3 separate regions of the Homo sapiens genome follow, and regions 1 and 2 are each linked to region 3. Evidence: promoter capture Hi-C in human tissues and cell types (Jung and others, 2019). All regions are on one chromosome and are shown on one strand. The core of a region is centred on a gene start or on the middle of the fragment in contact, and the rest is flanking DNA. Distances in the headings are between cores, read along the strand shown. Region 1 overlaps TSPEAR (thrombospondin type laminin G domain and EAR repeats). Region 2 overlaps TRAPPC10 (trafficking protein particle complex subunit 10). Region 3 holds the start of DNMT3L (DNA methyltransferase 3 like).

Region 1 (3,362 bases), core at 765-3,264, 240 kb before region 3:
TCACCAAGGCCAGCTTCCCCCCAAGGGCTCACCGAGGCCAACTTCCTCCCAGAGCCTTGCTTCCTGCTGAGGGCTCACCGAGGCCGGCTTCCTCCCAGAGCCTTGCTTCCCCGCCGAGGGCTCACCAACTCCGGCCTCCTCCCAGAGCCTTGCTTCCCGCCGAGGGCTCACCGAGGCCAGCTTCCTCCCAGCACATTGCTTCCCCCCTGTGGGCTCACCAAGGCCGGCTTCCCCCCAAGGGCTCACCAAGGCCGGCCTCCTCCCAGCGCCTTGCTTCCCCCCGAGGGCTCACCGAGGCCAGCTTCCTCCCAGAGCCTTGCTTCCCCCCGAGGGCTCACCAACTCCGGCCTCCTCCCAGAGCCTTGCTTCCCGCCGAGGGCTCACCGAGGCCGGCTTCCTCCCAGAGCCTTGCTTCCCCGCTGTGGGCTCACCAAGGCCGGCTTCCCCCCAAGGGCTCACCAAGGCCGGCCTCCTCCCAGCGCCTTGCTTCCCCCTGAGGGCTCACCGAGGCCAGCTTCCTCCCAGCACATTGCTTCCCCACTGTGGGCTCACCAAGGCCGGCTTCCCCCCAAGGGCTCACCAAGGCCGGCCTCCTCCCAGAGCCTTTCTTCCCCCCGAGGGCTCACCGAGGCCGGCTTCCTCCCAGAGCCTTGCTTCCCCCCGAGGGCTCACCAACTCCGGCCTCCTCCCAGAGCCTTGCTTCCCGCCGAGGGCTCACCGAGGCCGGCTTCCTCCCAGAGCCTTGCTTCCCCCCGAGGGCTCACCAAGGCCGGCCTCCTCCCAGAGCCTTGCTTCCCCCCGAGGGCTCACCGAGGCCAGCTTCCTCCCAGCACACTGCTTCCCCCCGTGGGCTCACCAAGGCCGGCCTCCTCCCAGCGCCTTGCTTCCCCCCTGTGGGCTCACCAAGGCCGGCTTCCACCCAAGGGCTCACCGAGGCCGGCCTCCTCCCAGAGCCTTGCTTCCCCCCGAGGACTCACCGAGGCCGGCCTCCTCCCAGAGTCTTGCTTCCCCCTGAGGGCTCACCGAGGCCAGCTTCCTCCCAGAGCCTTGCTTCCCCCCGAGGGCTCACCGAGGCCGGCTTCCTCCCAGCACCTTGCTTCCCCACTGTGGGCTCACCGAGGCCAGCTTCCTCCCAGAGCCTTGCTTCCCCGAGGGCTCACTGAGGCCAGCTTCCTCCCAGCGCCTTACTTCCCCGAGGGCTCACCGAGGCCGGCCTCCTCCCAGAGCCTTGCTTCCCCCCAAGGGCTCACCGAGGCCGGCCTCCTCCCAGAGCCTTGCTTCCCCCCGGGGGCTCACCTTCTCTCGCAGGTGCCACCGGCTCACAGCGAGTCCCAAGTCAGGTGTCATTTCCGAGATTGGCTGGGCCCAGTGGATGGCCCGGCGCTGGCTGCACCCGTGTGGGATCTGAGCTGGGGCCCTGCCCCGGGTGTAGCCACAACCCACGAGTGCTGGTGCTTCTGCCTTTGGATTCTGTCAGGGATGCGGCGTGTGGACATCCTAACATGGGAGTTGTTGATATTTAATTTTTCTCTCATAGACACTGTGGTGTTCTCATTTATTTCCAGGAGTTTTCCAAGTATCGTACGTTTAACGAATGGGGTTGGCTTTTTAACTTTCATTTGCAGCTGCTCATCATGACAATCATTTTCTCGCCCCCTAACCAATCAGTTCTAATAGCTTTTCTTAAAAAGATTCTCAGGGGACTTAGGAATGTAATTACCTCTGAGAATAAAGAACATTTCCCCTTGATTTCTAGTGTTCTAATTGATTATGTAGCTTGCTTCCCTAGCTAAAGATTCCAGAACAATCTTGGATGGCGGCAGAAGTGGCAGCTGTCCCACCTTGCTCTAATTTAACGAGCACATCTGAGCATGGCCGTTTGATGGGCTGTGGGCCATCCGGGCCAGGGCTGAGGTCTCCTTTGGCATCTGTGAGTGCGTGGTGCGGTCCACTATGTTTACTGTTGATGTCATGATTTATAGTGAGACATCTCCTCGCGTTATTAGACCCGATGCCACTTGGTGATGATGCAGAATTATTGAATAAGCCACTGGCTTCCAATTGCCTGTCTTTAAGCTTTTAGCATCTATAATAGGAAATTAGATTGCTCGGTGGTTTTCTTTTGGGGACTTAACTTTATCCAGTTTAAAATGAAGCCTAACAGTAAATACACACTGCAGGGCTTTCTAACTGCACCTGTGGACTGGGATAGTCTGAAGAATAGGATTTTTTCTCTCATTTCTGACAGCTGGGTTAAATTCAGTTATAAAGCCATCTGGGCCTGGGTACCTTTTTAATAATATCTCCTTCTTATTTATTTTTTGGGGGGGACAGGGTCTCACTCTGTAGCCCAGGCTGAAGTGCAGTGGCATAACCTCAGCTCATTGCAGGCTGAAATTCCCAGGCTCAAGCAATCCTCCCACCTCAGCCTCCCTAGTCGCTGGGACCACAGGCATGGGCCAACCATGCCTGGCTAATTTTATTTTTTCTTTTTGGAGATGGAGTCTCGCTTTGTCGCCCAAGCTGGAGTGCAGTGGCCCAGTCTCGGCACACTGCAAGCTCCGCCTCCTGGGTTCACGCCATTCTCTTGCTTCAGCCTCCTGAGTAGCTGGGACTACAGGCACCTGCCACCACACCTGGCTAATTGTTTTGTATTTTTTAGTAGAGATGGGGTTTCACTGTGTTAGCCAGGATGGTCTCGATCTCCTGACCTTGTGATCTGCCCGCCTCGGCCTCCCAAAGTGCTGGGATTACAGGCATGAGCCACTGCGCCTAGCCCATGCCTGGCTAATTTTTGTATTTTTAATAGAGATGGGGTTTCACTATGTTGGCCAGGCTGTTCTCGAACTCCTGACCTCAAGTGATCTGCCCGCCTCAGCCTCCCAAAGTGCTGAGATTATAGGCGTAAGCCACCCCGCCCGGCCATAAATGCTATATTTGAAGGCAATGAGAAAAGGATGGGTTTTACTTGATAACTCCATATGATTCGGGAGATTAGCTTCATGTAATCTGGAAGAAAACAAAGCTTACCCCCACTTCACATTGTACACAAAAATAAATGTTATATGGATTAAAAGTCCAAATGTGAAAAAGAAGAAAAGCTGAAGGCAGTTGTATAACCTCAGGGTTCTATGAAGAAGACAAGCCCAGAAGGAAAGGCACTGGGTCGACCACCTGTGTTAAAAGCTTTCTATGGAAACAGACATCCTATTCAAAAGCAAAAGACAAACTCTTTACCACACACACGACAGAAAACCAACCCTTACAAACTAATAAAAAATGTGTCTTTAAATTTGGAAAAATGGACAAAAGATATAAATATGAATTTTTAGAAGAAAAGATGAACAGTGTGAATAAACATT
Region 2 (3,756 bases), core at 1,068-3,567, 180 kb after region 3:
GATTATGATCATGACTACGTCTCTGAGGGTCACAAAATTTGCCTGCCCATTAGTAGTAGAAGAGAATCACATAATGAGGCTTAAGAAGAGACTGTAAAGAAAACTTGACTGTGCTGGTGCTGCTCAAATATTCAAAACCTTCTCTGGATTTTTCAGCTTCAGGCCACGGGCTTTTGGGTTAAGAACAGTCAGCAGTCAGGTGGCTCCCCCTCACTCCAAGACAGCAATGAGAGGCAGGAGTGAGCTGAGGCCTCTGAGAATCCTGCTGCAGGGAAGACAGAAGGCAGGCAAGATACCAGGACCGGGGGGAGAGTGGACAGAGACAGGGGACACTAGGCAGGAAGCAGGAGCCAGGCCATGAGCCTGGCACTGCAGCCGCTGGGCCATGGGGAGGGCAGGGCCTGCTGGCTGGTGCTTCGGCTCCCCTGCGGGAATCGAGTTCAGCTTCTCTACACAATGTTCCAATGGAAGAATCACTGGAGAGACTGACTGCTGTGTCCCACATCTGACAGCCTTTGCTGGTGGCCACACAAGAGGCACAAATGCAGAAAAATAGGGGGAATGGGGGAATAACAGAAAAATGCCCTTTGTGATTTTTTTCCACGTAGAAGAAACAGGCAAATAAATAAATCGTTGCTAGCCCGAACAAAGGAGACATTCACTCACTCTTGTTCAGCTGCCACATGTTCTTCAATCATTTGTTTATAGCAACTCCTTCCAATTTTAGAACTTATCAGAAAGGACAATAGCTTTGAATTTCTCAAATGCCATGCCAGACGGACAAGTTTAATCAACCCTTTCAAAGGAAAACTTTTTTTTTTTTTAAGAGATGGAGTTTTGTTCTGTCACCCACGCTGGAGAACAGTGGCGCAATCACAGCTCCCTGAGGCCTCAAACTCCTGGGCTCAGGAGGCTGAGGCAGGAGCCTCAGCTGGGGCTCCAGCCTGTAGCTAGGACTAGAGGCCGTGGCGCACGACTACACCCAGCTAATTTACTTCATTTTTTTATTTTGCAGAGATGGGGTTTTGTCATCCTGCCCCGACTGGCTTACCCATGCTGGTCTCAAAGCCTTGGCCTCCCAAAGTGCTGGGATCTGAGTATAGATCCTAACTAAATCTAGTGTTTAGCATTTGAAACGTACTTCTAAGCAGGAAATTATATACATATTTATGAAACCCTGTGGTAGACATTAGCTGCTTCTTGGCCTAATGTGACACTGTAAAATACACATGTAGTTTTCAACCCCATTTCCAGGCATACTAGCTCCCAAATTCCTTAGAATCTCCAAAGTGATGTCTTTTTGTAGGCTAATGAGTTGATTGGAGGCTGGCAGCTCCAAGGTAGCTTCAAGATGAGGACTGGTCACCAGAATGACCAGGGCAGGATTAGAGGGTCGGGCCTTTCAGCAGTGGCACCCAACCTCCAGGGAGGAAAGAGGGGCTGAAGGTCGAGTTGCTCATCAGTGGCCAGTGGTGTAATCGATCATGCCTGTGTAATGTCACTTCCATAAAAACCAAAGGACAGGGTCTGGAGAGCTTTCAGGCAGCTGAACACATGGAGGTTCCTGGAGGGTGGCGCCCAGGGAGGGCGTGGAAGCTCTGCACCCCTTTCCCCATACCTCACCCTCCACACTTCTTCATCTATATCCCTTATAATAATCCAGTCAACCTGTTTCCCTGAGTTCTGTGAGCTGTTCTAACAAATTCATCAAACCCAGAAAGGGGGTTGTGAGAGCCCTGATTTCTAGCTAGTTGGTCAGGAGCACAAGCAAAAGAACCCTGGGCTGGTGGCTGGCATGGGAAGGGGGGGACTGTCTTGGGGACTGAGCCCTCACCCTGTGGTGTCTGACGCCAGCTCCAGTAGACAGGGTCAGAACTGAATTGCAGGACCGACTGCTTGCTTGCTGGCAGGGGGAAATCCCTGCACATTTGGGCCCAGAAGTCCTCTGCATTGACCATTAGGTTGAGTGAGCCAATAGAAAAAAATACCTTGAGTTTCTTTTTTCCACTCTCAGAGCTAATTCTTCTGTGTTTCTTATTTTCAGATACACCATGTTTATTAAACATGAAAAAGCAATTACAGGAAAGCAAACATTCAGATAAACAAAAGAGGCAGTCAGCTAGTTCCCAGGCAAAATTTCCATTATGTTACCCAAAATATCTCTTAAAGGCAGACACAGCTAAAACTTATGAGAAGCCTGGCATCTCAGCAGGTCTCCTCAGAACTGCCCCAGCAGCACGCCTCCTCAAAGGCTGGGGACCCCACTCACCAGCCAGCGGCTCCACGTGCAGCTGGGGCTCCTGTGAGTACACGTCGTACTGCACAATGGGGTAGATGTGAGGGAGGACGAACCACACGGAGCCCACCGAGGCGCACAGCTGCCTGAGTGTATACGTTCCAGGTTCCTTGGCCTAGAGTCAAAGAATCAGGCATTTGAAACCACGTCACCCAGTTTTGCAGTTAGCTTCCTGCGGTAGCGCGGTGCAGCGGTCTCTCTGAACTCCAGAAAGGCCTGTACTTCTTTCCCTCTTGTACCCCCTGCTCTTGTGCCTAAACCTCTAAGCTTGGGCTCTTCACAAGGCCCTCAGAATCTCTCAATTCGTGATTTTCTGAGTAACTGATGCTTAAATTTAACTTTAATAAGGTATTTTCAACTTATCTAAACTGTATTTGTGGCATTGTAGAGACATTCAGCACGAGATTTAAGCCCTGCCCTAGACTAAAAAATGTGACAAATAGCTGTACTTTCCACAGGCCAAATCCTGTTGAGTTAGTGGAACTTACAGGATATCCTGTGTCAGAGAAAACTTTATGTTAGAGTGGGTGAGAAACACCAGTTTTGACACCCAGCCAGCCACAAAAGGAAAATAAGTTTGAGTGGGAAAGTGTACCACCTTCTTTGAAAGCTCATTTTAACAAATGAGGGTGTGTATTTTCATATGCAGGGGGGAAAGCTAACTGAATCCAATAATCCAATGAGTTAAAAAGCTAACTTAATCTAAGAACAAATATCTACGTTAAGAACTTCACTCAGAATTTATCAAATGTCAGAAAATTGTATAAAACACGAAAGAAAACATCAGTGTATTTTTGTATAAGGACAGAGACAAAAACAGGGTTAGGAGAACAAAGGACTCTACTCAATTCACAGCACACTCCAGACAGTTCTTGTAAGCTCCACGGCCCTGCTTTACAAACTTGAAAGTCAAGTTCCCACCCTGAACGCATACCTGAGTCCTGAATGTTATCTGGTTGGCCCCTGGTTCCAGGGTCACGTGGCTGCACCTCAGCACGTGGGCACCCTCCTCCAGAGCCACCCCTGAGGGCATCTCTAGAGAGGAGCTGCTCTCCTGCCTTCTCAGGAGCATGTGGACGTTTCTGCAGATAATCCCAGTCGTGTTCAAGGAGTTATCAGATGGGCTTCTCTCAAACATTTCATACAACTCCAGCGCGGGCAAACTGTTTTGGGATACAGGGAAAGGTGCGGTCTCGGGTGGAAAGTTAATGATCCCATTGGACGTCTTGTGCTTGGTAAGCCACTCCGCAGTCTTCCGGTAGCTGTTTTTCTCAATGCTGAAGTGGACATTGACCACAATCTGCTCCACGTGAACAGGCACAGGCATCTGGCTGTACATGGTTATCTCAACGCACAAAACGCCGCCCACGTGGACCACGGCATTGGAGGGATCAAAATGGAGATCTCGCAGTTGTGCAAAGGAATGCATGGGTAGCACTATCTTATGACCTGTAAATAGA
Region 3 (3,356 bases), core at 54-2,553:
CCCTAACCTCCCTCCAACAAAGTCCCCCTTCCCAACCCACCCCGCACCTCCCACACTGCCCCTCTGCCCACCCCACCTTCCTGCTCCCTTCCCTGCTTCCACGTTCCACCCCCACCCTGAACCTACCCCTCCCAGCTCCCCAACCCCCCACCTGCCCTGACATTCCCCACCCAACACCCCTTACCCCATCCTCCAGGGCCTTCCCTGTTTCCTTCTCTCCCCCACAGCTGCCCCCCAAACCTGGGGCTCCAGACTGAGCTCCCAAGCCCGGCTCCTGAACGCCCCTCCCTCTATCCCGCCAGAGGACCACCTCCCCTGAACACCCCCATCTCCTCCTCACCATCTACCCCCACCCCCACTCCCATCCCAACCGACCCTGAGATCCCTGAGGCCCATCCCCACCCCATTCTCACCCCTATCCTGCCCTAAAGGCCACCTCCCCTGAAACCCCCATCCTCGGCCTCACACCCCCATTCCTACTTTCACCCCGTCTCTACCCTTGCCCTGAGCCCCGACCCCCGCCACTGAGCCCTGCCCCGGAGTGCCCACCCTCACCCTATCATCACCCCCATCCCGCCAAAGGACCACCTCCCCTGAAGGCCCCCATCTCCAACTCAGCATCCACCCCCACCCCCACTCCCTAATCCCCCAACAGATCTCCCTAAGCCCCGCCCTCCACCCACCCACCCTGCCCTGAGGGCCACCTCCACTAATCCTCACCCATCTCCACCCAGGGGGCCAACTCCACCTAACCCCCCGCCCTGCCCTACCTCCACCCTCCACCCTCCACCCTCCACCCCTCCACCCCTCCACCCTCCACCCTCATCCCTTTCTTCACCCTTGCCCTGAAGCCCACCCCTATGACCTTCCTAAACCCCACCTCTGAGCGCCCTGCCCCTACCCCACAGCCACCCCTATCCCCCACCCCACCCCAAGGGCCCCCCTCTACTGAAACCCCCCTCATCTGCCCCATCCCCAGTCCTCCCATCTCCACCCCTCCCCTGAACCCCACTCCCCACTGAGGTCCCCAAACCCCACCCCTCACTCCACCCTGAGGGCCCCATCCTCTGAACCCCAATCCCCCAGCCCCACTGAGCTCTTAACCCTCCCCACCTGAGGGTTCCCTTTCCCTGCCCGTCCCCCAGCTTCCTAGCTCCCCACCCCAAGTGACCCCCCGCAGCTCCTCGCCCCTCCCACTGCAAACCGGCACTGAAGGGCTGCCCCGCCCCCGCCCCTCCCCGCCCCCGCGGGACACGCCCAGATTCTTTGCCCCCATAGCCTGGTGACCTCTGGCCACCCGCTGTCCCAGGTGGGCCTGGATCCTTCCAGCTCATTCTTTGCCTGCGCCGTCCCTCGTTCCATGGCCCAGTCCTCCCCGGGGACCCTGAGCCTGGAAGCCCCGGACCACTGGAACCTTGAACCCACCAGCTGGCTGTACCCGGAGCCGTGGCAGCAGCCCTGTGAGTCTCTTTCCTACTCCCTGACCATGCTGCCTTCAAGGGTGCGGCTGGCCAAGACCATCCCCAGGGGTCCCTGCTGGGCCTGAGGGACACTGTAGGAGGCTGGGGCATGGGAGTCCCTGAGGGGTCGAAGGCTGGGCCCAGAGGAAAGCAGGGGCTGCAGCGGCCATTGGCCCCAGGTCCTCATGAGGGCCCTGCCCTCCCCTTTTTGCCCCATCTTCCATGTTGTAACAGGGCCAGGCAGGTGGGGGGCACGCCTCAGGGGACCCTTGAGCCCCTCTCAGGGCTGGCACTGGCCTTGGCTGTCCTGCCCCTCATCCCTGGGTTGGGCAGGTGGGTGTCACCGCGGGGGTTCAGGTGGCCTGAACTAGTCAAGGTCTGCTCAGCAAGCTGCTTCCCGTGCTGGGGTGCATCAGGGATCTGAGCAGGGGCTGACGGCTTTCTCACATCTGTGTCCGTGTGTCCTGACACAGCATCCCCATGGCGGCCATCCCAGCCCTGGACCCAGAGGCCGAGCCCAGCATGGACGTGATTTTGGTGGGATCCAGTGAGCTCTCAAGCTCCGTTTCACCCGGGACAGGCAGAGGTGAGGGCTCATCTGCTTATTGGACCAGTCACTTAGGATGCTGATCCCAGGCCTGGATGAGGTCTGGAGTTCCAGGCTTCTGGAGTATTCATGCATTATTCAGGCACCCGGGCTGGGGCAGGAGGTTCCCCACCCACAGTCTTCCCCCAGGTATGGGCGTTTAACACACCAAGATAAGGTGTGAGGGCGGGATGGCAGGGGACCTCAGGCTCCTGTGACTTTGGAAAACGAATTGTGATGCTCACTTCCTGGCCGAATTTAAATTAAGAGATCAGAGGAAGAAGAAAGGGGCTACTTCTTATCTTCCTTTCCAGATCTTATTGCATATGAAGTCAAGGCTAACCAGCGAAATATAGAAGGTGAGTGTTTGCATACTGGCCCACACCAGACAAAAGAGACGGGGCACAGTGGCTCACACCTATAATCCCAGCACTTTGGGAGACCAATGTGGGAGGATCATTTGAGCCCAGGAGTTTGAGACCAGCCTAGGCAACATAGTGAGACTCTGTCTCTACAAAAAAATAAAAATAAAAATTAACCAGGCATGGTGGCATGCACCTGTAGTCCCAGCTACTCAGGAGGCTGAGTTGGGAGGATTGCTTGAGCTGGGGAGGTCGAGGCTGCAGTGAGCTATGATAACACCACTGCACTCCAGCCTGGGTGACGGTGAGATCCTGGAAGGAGGCAGTGGACACCACTGTGCCACGTGTATCCCTTCTCCCCCTCCCAAGGCCCCTGTAGCTTCATTTAAAGCATATAGTTTAATGTATTTTAGTTTATTTACAGAGTCAGCAACCATCATCACCATCTAATTTTAGAAGGTTTTCATCACCCTGAAAAGAAAACCCATGTCTAGTAACAGTCACTCCAAATTCCCCCTTCTTGCTTCCCTTCTTTTAACTCTAGGCAACCACTCCTCGACTTTCTCTCAACGTGGGTTTGCCTTTTCTGGATCCTTTGCATTTCCGTATGAATTTAGGATCAGCCTGTCAACTCCTGCCCAAAAGCCAGCTGGGATTTTGAGAGGGCTCTGCAGCTCCATTTGGGGACTCATGCTATTTTAACAATATTAAGTCTTCTTCTTTTTTTTTTTTTTTTTTTTTTTGAGACACACTCTCACTCTGTCCCCCAGGCTGGAGTGCAGAGGCATGATCTTGGCTCATAGCAACCTCTGTCTACCAGGTTCAAGTGATTCTCCTGCTCAGCCTCCTAAAGTGCTGGAATTACAGGCATGAGCCACCACACCCAGCCAATGTTAAATCTTCTGATCCATGAACATGGGATATCTTTCCATTTTGTTCCATCTTCCT

Evidence for each region. The method cuts DNA at HindIII sites, captures the fragments that hold promoters and counts their contacts. A contact is called where the count stands out against the background at its distance.
Region 1: a contact is called between a fragment that was not itself captured here and the fragment with the promoter of DNMT3L in region 3, in 2 of the 25 tissues and cell types used here (dorsolateral prefrontal cortex and spleen).
Region 2: a contact is called between a fragment that was not itself captured here and the fragment with the promoter of DNMT3L in region 3, in 1 of the 25 tissues and cell types used here (lymphoblastoid cells).

What each region holds. Positions count from the first base shown.
Region 1 is chr21:44,500,730-44,504,091 of GRCh38, reverse strand. All of the region lies in intron 11 of TSPEAR (thrombospondin type laminin G domain and EAR repeats), which reads left to right. Among named protein-coding and RNA genes, the nearest start is that of TSPEAR-AS1, 3.6 kb to the left of the region's middle. RefSeq lists an enhancer at 411-930. The HindIII fragment of the contact is 6,330 bases long and covers 1-3,362 here.
Region 2 is chr21:44,082,777-44,086,532 of GRCh38, reverse strand. It overlaps TRAPPC10 (trafficking protein particle complex subunit 10), which reads right to left. Exons shown (of 23, transcript NM_003274.5): 14 at 3,231-3,745; 15 at 2,270-2,411. Among named protein-coding and RNA genes, the nearest start is that of PWP2, 23 kb to the left of the region's middle. The HindIII fragment of the contact is 7,855 bases long and covers 1-3,756 here.
Region 3 is chr21:44,259,844-44,263,199 of GRCh38, reverse strand. DNMT3L (DNA methyltransferase 3 like) reads left to right here and starts at 1,303. Exons shown (of 12, transcript NM_175867.3): 1 at 1,303-1,460; 2 at 1,934-2,046; 3 at 2,361-2,405. The coding sequence starts at 1,941. RefSeq lists an enhancer at 1,029-1,588. The HindIII fragment of the contact is 12,940 bases long and covers 1-3,356 here.